Regions from separate parts of the Homo sapiens genome. Here region 2 is linked to region 1. Evidence: promoter capture Hi-C in 16 types of primary human blood cells and fetal thymus (Javierre and others, 2016). All regions are on one chromosome and are shown on one strand. The core of a region is centred on a gene start or on the middle of the fragment in contact, and the rest is flanking DNA. Distances in the headings are between cores, read along the strand shown.

Evidence for each region. Contacts are between HindIII fragments. The CHiCAGO score rates a contact against its expected background, and 5 or more counts as called.
Region 2: a fragment that was not itself captured here is called in contact with the fragment with the promoter of GTF3C5 in region 1 in 1 of 17 cell types (fetal thymus); the score reaches 5.5 in fetal thymus.

The regions. Positions count from the first base shown.
Region 1 is chr9:133,026,668-133,033,669 of GRCh38, forward strand. It overlaps GTF3C5 (general transcription factor IIIC subunit 5), which reads left to right and starts at 4,330. Exons shown (of 11, transcript NM_012087.4): 1 at 4,330-4,497. The coding sequence starts at 4,345. It overlaps LOC105376306 (a long non-coding RNA gene), which reads right to left and starts at 3,755. Exons shown (of 2, transcript NR_135119.1): 1 at 3,483-3,755; 2 at 1,485-1,764. RefSeq lists enhancers at 3,511-3,760, 3,995-4,646, 4,091-4,350. The HindIII fragment of the contact is 8,183 bases long and covers 1,850-7,002 here.
Region 2 is chr9:132,404,773-132,411,774 of GRCh38, forward strand. TTF1 (transcription termination factor 1) reads right to left here and starts at 2,068. Exons shown (of 11, transcript NM_007344.4): 1 at 2,018-2,068. It overlaps CFAP77 (cilia and flagella associated protein 77), which reads left to right and starts at 5,439. Exons shown (of 6, transcript NM_001282957.2): 1 at 5,439-5,694. The coding sequence starts at 5,500. LOC105376304 (a long non-coding RNA gene) reads left to right here and starts at 5,869. Exons shown (of 3, transcript XR_930405.2): 1 at 5,869-6,959. RefSeq lists a silencer at 6,547-6,596. The HindIII fragment of the contact is 770 bases long and covers 2,739-3,508 here.

The DNA of each region.
Region 1 (7,002 bases), core at 3,080-5,579:
TTATTCATGAGGGCAGACAAATTAAGTTTCCAACACATGAAATTTGGGGGACATTTTCAAACCATAGCATATGCCCTGAATCCAGGCAGAGAAAGTGTCCCCTCAGTGCACAAATATTGTCACAGCTGCCTGCTCTGAATGCTGCAAGGTTTTGGAGAACGTTAAAGCTACTTCTTTTTTTTTTTTTTTTTTTTTTTTTGAGATGGAGTCTCACTCTGTCACTCAGGCTGGAGTGCAGTGGCATGATCTCTGCACACTGCAACCTCTGCCTCCTGGGATCAAGCGAGACTCCTGCCTCAGCCTCCCGAGTAGCTGAGATTACAGGCATGTGCTACCACATGTGGCTAATTTTTGTATTTTTAGTAGAGATGGGGTTTCACTATGTTGGCCAGGCTGGTCTCGAACTCCTGACCTCAAGTGATCCACCCGCCTTAGCCTCCCAAAGTGCTGGGATTACAGGCATGAGCCACCGCTCCCAGCCAAAGCTACTTTTTAACTGGGTTCCTGATCTTTCTTGGCCTGTCTCTGCTCCCAGCCTTGCCTTACTGCTCCTGCCTCTGACCTCCCGCTTTGGATCTCAGGCAGGACCAAGTCTAATCTCAAAAAGCTTGGTCTGATGCCCTGGGGTTGGTCCCTTGTCTTCCCCTCACACTCAGCCCCTCCTCACTTCCTGTGCACTAAGGGACACTCCTTGTCTGACAAGCCTTGATTTAGTGTCCCTATGACCATGCCCTGACCCGGGGCTCGATTGAAGGCTCAAATAAGACAAGTGGCCTCATTCAGTTGTTCAATAAATACTTCCTGAGCACCTGCTCGGTGCTCAGCCCCATGCAAAGCAGTGGTGACAGTGGGAAGACAGTGGTGAATAAGACAGACATGGTCCCTGTCTTCAGAAAGTTGCCACTCAAGTGGAGAAGTAAAAAAGAAAAAAAATAATAGTGCTTCCGGCTCCATGATGCAGTGGGTTTGGGGCCCCGGGCAGCGAGGATGGCACCAAACTAGTGTTTTGGGGTCAGGGAGGATTTACCAGGCAAATTGAAGTCTAAGGCAACAACCTAAAGGAGAGGAGTAGTTAGCCAGGTGGTGGGCCAGGGATGCTGGGGAGTCACTGGAGGCAGGGACAGACTGCGATCTCATTCTGGAAAGATCACTCTTGCTTCAGTAAGGAGGAAAAATACAGCAGACAAACTAGAGGGTCACTGGATTGCATGGTGGGCTCACTAAGGTTCCAGGTGGTTTGGAATCAGCTTTCCAAATTCAGAAACTCAATCTCAATACCCGGAGGTGGGAGTGCCATATTTAGCAAATTAAAAAATCACCTAGCTAAATATGAATCTCAGATAACACATATTTAGTATAAATATGCCCCAAATATTGCATGAATTCAAATTTAACTGTGTTCAATATTTTATTGGCCAACTCTACCAACAGTGACCAAGTCTTCATGACTGTCTTATGTGCACCAAACTCACAGGGATCTGATGTAAATACACCAATTTATTGATTTACAATTGCAGGCAAGGTTAAAATATACATGTTATTCAGTTTCTCCTTTCTGGAAAATGAAACAGTCAGAAGACTGGTGAACATGGAATGAGGACAAAAGGACACAAGGAAGTTTGAAAGGAAATTTCATCTCAAGGCATGGTAAATTCTGGAGAATCATCCTGGCCTCCCTACAGAGAATCCTCTTTGGTGGCAGAAAGTGCAGGTCCCCCCTGGAGAGGGCAGGTCAGGGACCACCGGGTCCTCGTGTGCAGCTCCCTGTGGAAACACGTGGTTCTTCTAGCTCAACCATCATCTGCTGGTGGTTGATTTCCCACTGTACTCTCAGGAGGTGTTCTTTCAAAGCTTTGGGGCTCCTGACCCAGCCTTCCAATTACAATACAATATATTTCACATTGAGGTTACACTTTAGAATGTATTCAGTGGGCTGAATTCATGTAGCTATTTATTCTGCCTTCTTAAACCCAAGGAGAGCAATCAGGTACTCTTCTGATTAAGAAATCACAGGCTGGGCACGGTGGCTCACGCCTGTAATCTCAGCATTTTGGGAGGCCGAGGTGGGCAGATCATGATGTCAGGAGATCGAGACCATCCTGGCCAACATGGTGAAACCCCATCTCTACTAAAAATACAAAAATTAGCTGGGCGTGGTGGCGCATGCCTATAATCCCAGCTACCCGGGAGTTTGAGGCAGGAGAATCGCTTATACCAGGGAGTCGGAGGTTGCAGTGAGCCGAGATTGTGCTACTGCATTCCAGCCTGGTGACAGAGTGAGGCTCTGTCTCAAAACAAACAAACAACAAAAAGAAATGACTTTAGGCAACATAGTGAGACCCCGTCGCCACACACACACAAATACAAAATTAGTCGGGTATGGTGGTGCACGCCTGTAGTCCCAACTACTCAGGAGGCTGAGGCAGGAGGATCACTTGAGCCCAGGAGTTCGGGGCTGCAGTGAGCCATGATCACACCACTACACTCCAGCCTGGGTGACAGAGGGAGATCGTGTCTTTCAAAAAAAAAAATCACTTCAGAAACGGGGTACCCATACCCAAGGGGTCACTTGCTCTTACTAATTTCTAGCTGTAATGCAAGTGGCATGATCATAGCTCACTGCAGCCTCCAACTCCAGGGCTCAAAGGATCCTCCTGCCTCAGCCTTTTGAGTAGTTGGGACTACTGTGGCATGCACCACCATGGCCGGCTAATTTTGTATTTTTTGGTAGAAATGGGGTCTTCCCCTGTTGCCCAGGCTGGCCTCCAACTGCTGGGCTCAACTGATCCTCCCGCCTCAGCCTCCCAAAGTGCTGGGATTACAGGCGTGAGCCACTGTGCTGGGCCATGATTCTCATCTCCCAATATTCTCAAACCCAGTCCCTTCATCTCTTGACTGGATTATGCAGTCTCGGAGCTGGTTTATCTGAACTCACTTTCTCCCCCTTTGATCTGTTCTCCACACAACAGCCAGAGAGGTCTTTCAAATGCATGAATGGGATCACTGCTCCGCATAAAACCCTTCAAGGGGCCAGGCGCGGTGGCTCACGCCTGTAATCCCAGGACTTGGGGAGGCCGAAGCAGGCGGATCATTTGAGGTCAAGAGTTCAAGACCAGCCTGGCCAACATGGTGAAACCTCGTCTCTACTAAAAATACAAAAATTAACCGGGCATGGTGGCAGGCGCCTGTAATCCCAGCTATTCGGGAGGCTGAGGCACGAGAATAGCTTGAACCCGAGGCGGAGGTTGCAGTGAGCCGAGAAAGCGCCACTGCATTCTAGCCTGGGCGACACAGCGAGATTCCTTCTCAAAAAAAGAAACCTTCAGGGGCTCTCCACGGCACTGGGAAGCAGCCAGCCCGACGGGTGGACCCTTTTCGTGGGTGCGGGTCTCTGACCTCGGTCGGCCTCGGACCTCATCTCCTCCCTGTTTGAGGGGCCACACTCCTCGCTCCGGGGCTTTGCAGCAGCCCTGGGCGCCTACCGGACAGACGCCGTTCTCCCCGCCTGGGTCTTGAGTAGGGCCCAGCACACAGTAGGCGCTTAATGTCTGCCTGCCTAACAGACGAACGCCGGATGCCCGCGTTCGGCCCCGAGCCGGCGCTTCGGGGCTTTCTGTGGAGGCGGGGCGATGGTTACAGCACAGTTCCCCCGCGCTCGCCTTTTCCACATCCACCTCCGCGAGGCCCCCCGCAAGCGCCGTTGGAAACCTAGTCCCGAGGGGGCTGCAAGAGCTTGGGAGAAGAAGCGCCAACACCGACAGAATACCAGGCCGACCCAATGCGGAAATCAATTCTCAGCCGGGACCTTTTCCCCACCAAGCAGGCGGGCCGGAAGTCTGCCTCTGGCCCGCCCCCGAGGTGTCATTGGGTGGAATACCCAGAAGAGGGCTGGGACGTGGTTAACTCTAGTTCTTTATTGGTTAAAACGTACGAAGCTGGAGGAGAAGGTGGGACCTAGCTTCCTCCGGACTTCTCATTGGCTCAAAAAAAAACTCGCTCGGCCCTCGGATTCTCATTGGCTGAAGTCGAGGGAGGTTTGTGTCTTATTATCCTCCGGGTCCCTCGCTGGCTAGTAGGAGAGACTGGTGCTTGCCCCGCCCGGTGGACTAACTCGCTTAATTTTAAATAAAAAGTCGAGGACACGGCGGTCGTTTTCCCGAAGACATGGGCCCTCCCATGGGCCATTTGCTCCCTGGAGGCCCTCGCGTCTTGCTGAGCCCGGGGAGTTAGGATGACGCGAGCGGTGAGGGAGCCCGGAACGATTCCTTCGCGGAACAATTGAGGCGAGGCCTTTGGGAGTACTTTGTGGGACGGACCCTGGCGGGCCCTGCCAGACGCACAGGGATGGCGGCGGAGGCGGCCGATTTGGGGCTGGGGGCCGCCGTCCCCGTGGAGCTGAGGCGGGAGCGACGCATGGTGTGCGTGGAGTACCCGGGAGTGGTGCGTGATGTGGCTAAGATGCTGCCGACTCTGGGCGGCGAGGAAGGCGTCTCCCGGGTAAGGGGCTGGGAATCTCGGTGTTGGAATAAGAGCTCGGAGTCGCAAAGAAAACGAGCACTCAAAGGATTTCTCAGCAAGGGAAATTTAGCAAATTTACTTACGCAGAAGGGTGCTGCTCGCTCTTCTGGCCGCTGCAAGAGAGCCAACAGAACAAAGAAGGGAAGGATTTTTGTTTTTGTTTTTGTTTTTTTGTTGGTTTTTCAGGCGGAGTTTCGCTCTTGTTTCCCAGGCTGGTGTGCGGTGGTGCGATTTTGGCTCACTGCAACCTCCGCCTCCAGGGTTCAAGCGATTCTCCTGCCTCAGCCTCCAGAGTAGCTGGGATTACAGGCGCATGCCACCACGCCCGGCTAAATTTGTATTTTTTAGTAGAGAGGGGGTTTCACCATGTTGGTCAGGCTTGTTGGAAATAAATTTTGGGTGCCGCAAAGAAGAATCAGCACTCTGGCAAACAGTTTTCTCAGCAAGGCAAATTTCCTTCTATAGAAGGGTGCATCTTGCGGATGGAGCAATGGCGAGAGCACACCGACAAGGAAGGGGAAGGGGTTCCTATCTCTTACACAGCTAGTCTCTACTGCTGTGTCTTTCCCATATTGGCTAGGGTTGGACCGCACAGTCTAAGCTAATTCCGATTGGTTATTTCAAAGAGGGCAGGGGCACAGGCCTGAGTGGCGGGGTGAGTAGTTTTGGTGGGAAGGATGGTTACAGAGCAGGTGACTCAGGATGACTAAGGACAGAGCAGGTGATAGAAGCTAGGAAGGGGTTGTTTACTGAAACTAGGGGCAAGGAGGCGTAAAGAACGAGGGGTTAAACTTTAAAATGGAGAACAAAGAACAGGGAAGCTGAACATACTGACATATTGGTTCTTTGAAATGGAACTCATAACTCATTGTATTTATTAATTTTCCCCCTCTTGAATTTAAAGGAAGGTAAAAGGCTAAAATCTTTGAAGTGGAATTTACTGTGTCCTATAGGCTGGTCTTGAACTCCTGAGCTCAGGTGATCCACCCGTCTTGGCCTCCCAAAGTGCTGGGATTATAGGCGTGAGCCACCGTGCCCAGCCTGGAATGGGTTTTTATCCCTAAGGCAGTCAGTCCCTGTTTTTGTGTCCTGTCCCTGCTGGTTGGAGTTGGACCACACAATCTAAGCTAATCTCAATTGGCTATTTTAAATAGAACAGGGGTGTGGGTTACAGTGACGGGACGAGCGATTTCGGTGGGAAGACTAGTTTCGGCGGGAAGGGCAGTTAAACAGAGCGGGTAACTAAGGGCAAGGAGGCACAAAGAACAAGGAAGTTAGACTTTGAAGATGGAGAACAAAGAACAAGGGAGTTGAACAAGCTGAACCTTTGAAGAAGAATTCACTGTATAGAACAGTTTCCCCCTCTTGATTTTCATACTTCTTTCTCTTCAAACCTTTTTAGCATGTCTCGACTTTGCTGTTCTTGGTTTTCTAAAAGTAGAAGTTTGTCTGAATAAGGCGGGGGGAAATTGGAGGTTAGTGAGAGCTGTCTCCGTAAGTCTTTGTATTAACCCTCAGGCACAGGGTATGATACAACATCCTACGAGAATAAACACGTTTATTACAATGGCAAGGGACATAAGGATCGAGGACATAAGTCCTTTCCACCTGCCGAACAATCTTCCCGTTAGATCAGTGAAGAGATCGTTTATCCCAGAATTTTAAGCTAGCTCATTGGATAAAGCAGTAAGACCTTGCAGTGCCTTTGTTATGGTTCCGTCAGGAACAGTATTATTTGGGATAAAAGTACAACATTGGGTTCCAAGCATGACACAAACGCCACCCCTCTCTGCTAGTATCATTTCTAATGCTATTCTATTTTCCCAAGCCATTTGACTGGTGGGTCCTAGTTGTTCAGCTGTTCCTTTGATAGCATTCCTAGTATAATTAACAAATTGTTGCTGGTTGTAATAGATGTAACTTATCCAATCTACATTTTTATTTATAGTTAACCACCAGAAAAACATAGACTCAAATCCCGCAGCTATTTGATTACAAGCCTTAAATTCATCAGGTACCCCTCGGGGAACTCCAGTGGCATCTGTATAAACACGAGGGTCAAAGGAACCACGGGGGGCATCTCTTACTCTACGGTGTCTTGTTTTTACTTCTTCTGGTTGATGAAATGCCAGAGTGAAAGGGATGGCCAATTGGATCAGAGCACAGGTACCGCTCCAGTTACTTGGCAGAGTATCCAGTTACGGTCCACCACAATGCCACCATACATCTGCTCAGGATAAATGACTAGGGGCAGATTCATGGGTAAGCTCTTGGAAGGGCTTAAGCTCACTGCATCCTGTTAGGTCCCCAAGGAATGCCAAATTTTCCCTGTCACAAGAGACACAAAGTAAAATTGGCACTGGGAGACAGAAGCTGGATAGCCCTCAGGGGCTGACCCGCAGGGTGTTGAACCTCAGGGAACAGCAGAGAGAGAGCTCGGCACGATTTATCACCCCAGGCTGTGGGGTCCTGGAAAAGAGCTAC
Region 2 (7,002 bases), core at 1,874-4,373, 620 kb before region 1:
GTTCCAGCAAGAGTGCCTTTGTTCTTAAAGCCACAAATTTCAACAGACACTTTTCAGGCCCATCTTTTAGGACCTCTTAATAAATCACAAACAGAGCAAAGCCGATTATTTCTTTTTTTTCTTTTTTTTTTGAGACGGAGTCTTGCTCTGTCGCCCAGGCTGGAGTGCAGTGGCGTGATCTCAGCTCACTGCAAGCTCTGCCTCCCGGGTTCACGCCATTCTCCTGCCTCAGCCTCCCGAGTAGCTGGGACTACAGGTGCCCGCCACGACGCCAGGCTAATTTTTTTGTATTTTTTAGTAGAGACGGAGTTTCACCGTGTTAGCCAGGATGGTCTCGATCTCCTGACCTTGTGATCCAACCGCCTCGGCCTCCCAAAGTGCTGGGATTACAGGCGTGAGCCACCCACTGGCTGATTTCTTTTCTTTTCTTTTTTTCTTTTTCTTTTTTTGGAGACAGAATCTCGTTCTGTCACCCAGGCTGGAGTGCAGTGGCACGATCTCGGCTCACTGCAACCTCCGCCTCCCGGGTTCAAGCGATTCTCCTGCCTCAGCCTCCGGAGTAGTAGCTGGGATTACAGGCGCAAGCCACCAAGCCTGGCTAATCTTTGTATTTTTAGTAGAGACGGGGTTTCGCCATGTTGGCCAGGCTGGTCTTGAACTCCTGACCTCAGGTGACCCACCTGCCTCGGCCTCTCAAAGCGCTGGGATTACAGGCGTAAGCCACAGCGCCCGGCCTTGATTTCTTTAAATAACATTTCCCCTTCCATCAGTTCCTTTCCTTCTTTTTTGTAAATACTTCCTAGGCTGCTCTCTGGTCTCTGGAGCCCAGTACAACCTTCTAAATATATAGTCTCTCCCTGCTAAAAACTTTTTAGGGTTCCCCTGTTATTCTTAAGATAAAGTCAAAATCCTCACAGACCTGCAAGAGTCTTCATTTCTTCATAATCTAGCCTAGAGATGGACAGAGGTAAGTCCATGCCCACCTCTCTACCTCTCACTTCTCTCTAGGTTTCAGAAACCCTGCTGTTTTCAGTTCCTAGAATACACTACCTTCCTTTTCGTCTCAGGAACTTTGCAAAAACAGCCCATTCCATCAGGAAAGCTCTTCCTCCGCATTACCTTTCTGCCCTTTAACTGGTCCAAGTATGAAAGCCACTTTCTCAAGAGGACCTCTCTAACTCCTTAGCCGGTCTCATCTTTCTGGTTAACAGTGTTTCCCAACAACCAGCTGCTCCCCATTGCACTTTTGGCAGTTATAATATGATCGGCTTCTTGAGGGCTGGAATCCTGGCCATCTTGCTCCCAAATGGCTCCCCAGTCAGTGCTCGATACATATTGAGAACGGATATGCATTTATCCCCCCTTACTCAGAACATACACTTCCCGCTCTGCAGGTACGTGCCCAAACCTGGTCCCGGATTCTCTCACCGCCTTTGGGGTGCGAGAGAGACCCCGCTCTGCTCCCGGGTGGGCGCTCCAGGGCTGAGACTGGAGGAACTAACCAGATGTGAATTCTGCATCTTCTCACTCCCAAAGACCCAAGCCGCGGCCGGGCGCGGTGGCTCACGCTTGTCATCCCAGCACTTTGAGAGGCCGAGGCGGGTGGATCACCTGAAGTCAGGAGTTCGAGACCAGCCTGGCCAACATGGTGAAACCCTGTCTCTACTAAAAATACAAAAATTAGCTAGGCTTGGTGGCGGGCGCCTATAATCCCAGCTACTCGGGAGGCTGAGGCAGGAGAATCGCTTGAACCCAGGAAGCGGAGGTTGCAGTGAGCCGAGATCGCGCCACCGCACTCCAGCCTGGGCGACAAGAGCAAAACTCCATCTTTAAAAAAAAAAAAAAAAAACACCCAAGCCTCAGTTTCCCCGAGATAAGGCCTGGGGCAAAGACCGCGGCCTGGAGACCTCAGGCCAAAAGGCGGGTCTCCCAGAAGACGGGGAAACCCACCACCCCACGCTGAGTTTTTACGCGCGCATTTTGAAAAACAGAAACAACAAAGGCGCTTTCAACTTACCCTCCGAAAGCGCCGCCACCTTTCTCCCAACCCGGAAGTGCTGCTGTTGAGGAAGCGGAAGTAGTAGTGCGTCGCCTTCCGGCCCCCTCGGCGTCACGCTGCCATGGTAACACGGCTGCCGCTAGGCCTTGGAGGCGCGCACATTTGCCTACCCATTTTCCTTCTGGGTCCTTTAGACGTCAGGTGGGGTAGAGAGTGCTCCTGAAACGAAGAAAGTAGGACAGAATCCCCCTCCATTGACGTACTAATGCATGCGTGCATTCCATTTATTCCAGTTTTTGGTGAACTCCAGGAACAACTTGGGAAGACAGATGACAAATCAACTAAGATAATTTCAGATTATCTTGTAAGGAAAATAAAACAGGGTGACGTGATGGAGAGTGACTAGGGGACGGTGGGTGCTACTTTAGATGTAAGAGAGGGCTCACTGAGGAGGTGACATTTGAACTGAGTTCTAAATGGAAAGGGCAGGCAAAAAATCTAGGCAGAAGAGTGTTCCAGGCTGGAAGTGAGTGCAAAAGTCCTGAACTTGGTTGCTGGAGGACCTGGGACAAGGCCAGAGCAGCTGGAGCACAGAGTGAATCCACACAGTGAACCCACAGGGTGACAGACAGGTCGCACACGCCCAGCCTAAGTGAATGCATGTGAATGCAGGGGAGGGGGTGGGAGAGGAAGTCAGAGGTCTGCAGGGGCTATCTGGTGCAGAGGCTGATGGATGTTAAGCTTGGATGAAGTCTCAGAAGTTTAGAGTTAGCAGGAGCTTTGGAGATCTATCCCAGTCTTCCCATTTCAACAGAGTCCTGAAGAGACTTAGCCAAAAGGGCAGCTTTAACCTGGCCATCAATTCGAGGCCATTATATTTACCAACCAAACGTTTAACCTTTTTGGATAGTGAACATATACGATATAGGCAACAAGTTTTCTCACTTAATCCTTGTAATGAGGTATTATTAGCCCCACCTTGTGGATGAGAAACCTGGGTTTACAGTAACTTGTCCAAGGTGACTTAAATGGGCCAGCCAGAAATCAGACCTATGCTCTTTCTACTACTCCACTATCTTGCCCCTCACTGTTCCACCTGACTTCTATGTGATCTGCCAAGTGGCTTTGATTAAAAAATGCACAAACTATGCTTCCGTGAAAGTCTGGAAGGGAAGCAGGTTGGAGAAACGATGAGCCTATGTATGTACTCATGTTGCCATGCAAGGGCTGCTCTGGGATGTGGACGTGCAGTTGGAGCTCCGTCTGGAGAAGTCTGTAAATGTGGTGTTGTCCACTGTTGATATGGAAGGCCTTGAAGTCCAGGTCCGTCATTGGTGTCACGTGTTCTGTGGTGACCCCACTTACCCAGAGCCTTGTGGTGCTAGTGATGCATGAATGAACCCACAAAAGGCTGGCACTAGAGGAGAGATTAGATATCATCCAGTATCGATTCAGGAAAACTCCAATAGTGGTTTCCAATCCTCCTCCAACTGCACCAATCACCTGGGAAGCTTTTTTTTTTTTTTTTCAAATGCAGAGTCTCAACTTTGCAATGGATTTTATATTAAACACTATTGTATCACATTAAAATCTTCGGACATGATAATGACATTGTAGTTACACATGGGAATGTCCTTGCTACATGATGACGTACTTAGGGTTAAATATGGTGTTGACAGATATTTTTCAGGTGATTCTGTAATGTGTGTATGTGCATGCTCACAGAGAGAGAGCAAGAAAATGTGACCAGTGCTGGGGACGGGTGAATCTGTTAGTCCAAACTGCACCATTTTGTAAGCCCCCTGCCATTTTGCAGACCTTGCTTAAAGTGAAACATTCCACGGGGGTTCAGGCAGTGAGAAACAGCCTGCCTCTTATCATATTCTGCTGGGAGAAAGTGACAGGAACATCACGTTCCACCAGAACAAGGGCCAAACTGCCTCATCATGGGAATACCTTATCAACATCTTCCCGGGCAGCAGGCCATACCCACCGGGCCCCTCCCCGCCCAGGCCTATAATTTCTCCAGCCTGTAAGCAGCGGTAGGCACTGGCATTAAGCTGGTCTCCCACCTCTGTAGGTCTCATGCTGGACATAAAGCCTGAATTTGCTGTAGAGCCGCCACTCTTTCTTTAACCCTCCCCTTCCCTTCAAAATCTAACCGAATCTAGGTGAAGCCTATATGTATTTTCATTGTATTCTTCTTTCGACTTTCAACTTTTCTGTAGGTTTGAACTTTTTCACCAAGTTGTGGGTGGGTGGGTAAGGGGATTTTTAAAAATGCAGCATCTGGCCTGGTGAGGTGGCTCATGTCATTATCAGAGCAAGACTCCGTCTCTTAAAAAAAAAAAAAAAAGGAGAGCCTCAGATGCCATTTCCAGATATTCTGATTTAGTGAGTCTGGGGTGAGTCCTGTGAATCTTCGTTTTTCTTTTTTTGGCACATGGTCTCATTCTGTCATCCAGACTGGAATGTAGTTGCCGAAACACGGCTCATTGTAGTCTCAACCTCCTCAAGTGATCCTCCTGCCTCAGCCTCCCCCATAGCTGGGACCACAGGTGTGTGCCAGCACACCTGGGTAATTTTTTTAATTTTTGGTAGAGATGAGACCTCACCATGTTGCCCATGCTGGTCTCAAACTCCTGGGCTCAGGCCATCCTCCCTCCTAGGCTTCCCAAAGCAATGGGATTACATGGGTGAGCAGCCAAGCCCAGCCCAAATCTGTATTTTTCAATTTCCCTTCATTCTGTTGCTTAAATTTGGGAACCATTGATGTAATCCAACTCTAGCGTTTCCTTGTCACCCATCTCACAGGAAAAAAAGAAAAAAAGCCCTTAGGATCCAAGAGGGTGACTTGCCCGAGTCCTCCCAGTGGGTCAGCATCAGCATCAGGCTTGGAATGCATTTAGTGCTCTGTCTCAGGTGTGTGTGTGGCGCAAAGAGCAGAGGTGGGGAGGGGTTGTGAGTGGAATGGGGGTGAGCAGAGGATGGAGTCTTCGACTTGGAAGACAAATGTAAATGACCCTCTATGAGCCACGCCGCTTTGAACGCAACCCACTGGAGATTCTCGGTTCTCCTGTATCGATTCAGGAAAACTCCAAACAAGTCCACACTGGTAGCCACCAAGAGTTTCTTGAAAGAAAAGTACAAGCCGAGCCGGGCTCTGTTGGCGTCCCGTCGCCAAGGAGACGGGCCGTTGCATTCGTCCTCCAGGGGTGGTCTTGGTTTTCTTTCCTCTCCCAGTCTGCAACGCGGGGCCCAGGAGACGCCCTGAGGATCCCGCGGGGCTCCTGCATTGCTCCGGGGCTCTTTGCGATGAGGGGCCGGCGCGAGCGGGGCGCGCCTGGCTCCGGAGGGGTCCTGGCATCTGAGTTTCCCCCTCAGGATCCCGGTGGTGCGGCCCGGGCCGCCCGGCAGGCCCTTCGGAGCTCCAGGCTGTGCCCGACGTGGGGAAGCGCGCCCAAACCAGCCCGCGGGCCGGCTCCCCGGCGACCTCAAGGATGCCAGAGGCCAGGAGCTCCGGCCCGGACCTCACGCGATGGAGGAAGCAGCAGCAGCCTGTGCGCCGCACGGTCAGCCAGGTCTGCCCGCCCCCGCGGCGGCCCCTGACCGTGGCGGACATCCGTTCCGGCATGGAGAACGAGCGGCTGGGGGTCGTGCGGGACTCCATGTTTCAGAACCCTCTCATCGTCAAGGTGAGCACCCCACGCCCACCGCGCTTTCGCTGTCGCCGGCTCCGGGCACCTGCGCCGCCGGGGGTCCCCACCCGCAGCGCCCTGGCCCCGCGGCCCGGGGTCCGAGCGCAGCGTGGGAAGCTCCAGCTCTGGTCCAGACAGGCCTGGACCCCCATGCAGGTCGCGTCGCCTCTCTCAGCCTCGGTTTCCCCATCCTCACAGTGGGATGATAATGGCACCACTAAAGGGACTGATTGGGAAGATTGAATAGGGTAATTTCTGCGGGACCTCGGGACAGCGCCTGACATGGGGTAAGGCTGCAATGGGTGCTGCTGTGGTTTCCCACAGAGTGAACCCACAGGGTGACAGATAGGTCGCACACGCCCAGTCTAAGTCGTGGCTGCCAGCCCTCCCAGGGTAAAGGCCGCCTCTCCGGTTCCGCTGCACGCCTGGGGTACGTCTATGCAGCGGTGGCTCCGTGTCTGTCCTGGAAGCATCACGTCGAATGTTCATTTCCGTTCGATCATACTAATTTCTTACCCAAATTACAACCCTAAGAGAAAAAAAGCATAATCTTTGGCCTAGGAGGCTCCGCAGACAAGAATGAGGGAGCTGCGGTTTCGGGCTGGATCACTTTCCCTTCCATTACACTTCCCTCCTCCCCACCTTTAGCCTCGCTTCCCGCTGATGGGAAACCAACACTGCTGTGGCGGCCACACCTTCCCGGGGGCCACTGGAGAAGTCAGGCTGAGGCTTGGGGGTCAGGGAGCAAGCCTCGAGGCGAATTTATCTTGCGCCGCTGGAGGGCAGTGCGCCTTTAAAAATGCGCCCCGCGTCCCAGGTGCGGGAGTGGAAGGCGCAGGTGGTAACCGTGGATTCAACAACAATTATTTGTGTGACCGCCAGGCGCTGAGTAGAGCCCAGAGGTGGTGGTGGCGGTTTGTTTTTGTTTTGGGGAAAAGGGAACCCGTGCTAGAATTAACTGAGTTAATTGGCTCCTGGCAAAACATTGACTCCCTCCTCTTGCCTTCCCTAAACTCGGTCCTGAGAGGAGGAAGGATACTGCCTAGGCGCAGGCTGCACCTGGGGGAGGCTGGCTTCCCACACTCGTGCCTTTCCATCGAATAGGCTCCTTTCTTAGGCCTCTCAAAGTGGAACAAGGTCCTTCACTTACTTCTACGTGAGAAGAGCCACTCTGAGTGGACAGGCAGGACAGGCAGGTGGGGCCCATTATTCTTGGATGAAGGAGAGAATCACGTCCGCCACCTCTGACTACCTGCATTAAGGTTAGGTCGTTGCTTTTGTTCAAGTAGTTAGTAGTGAGCCAAC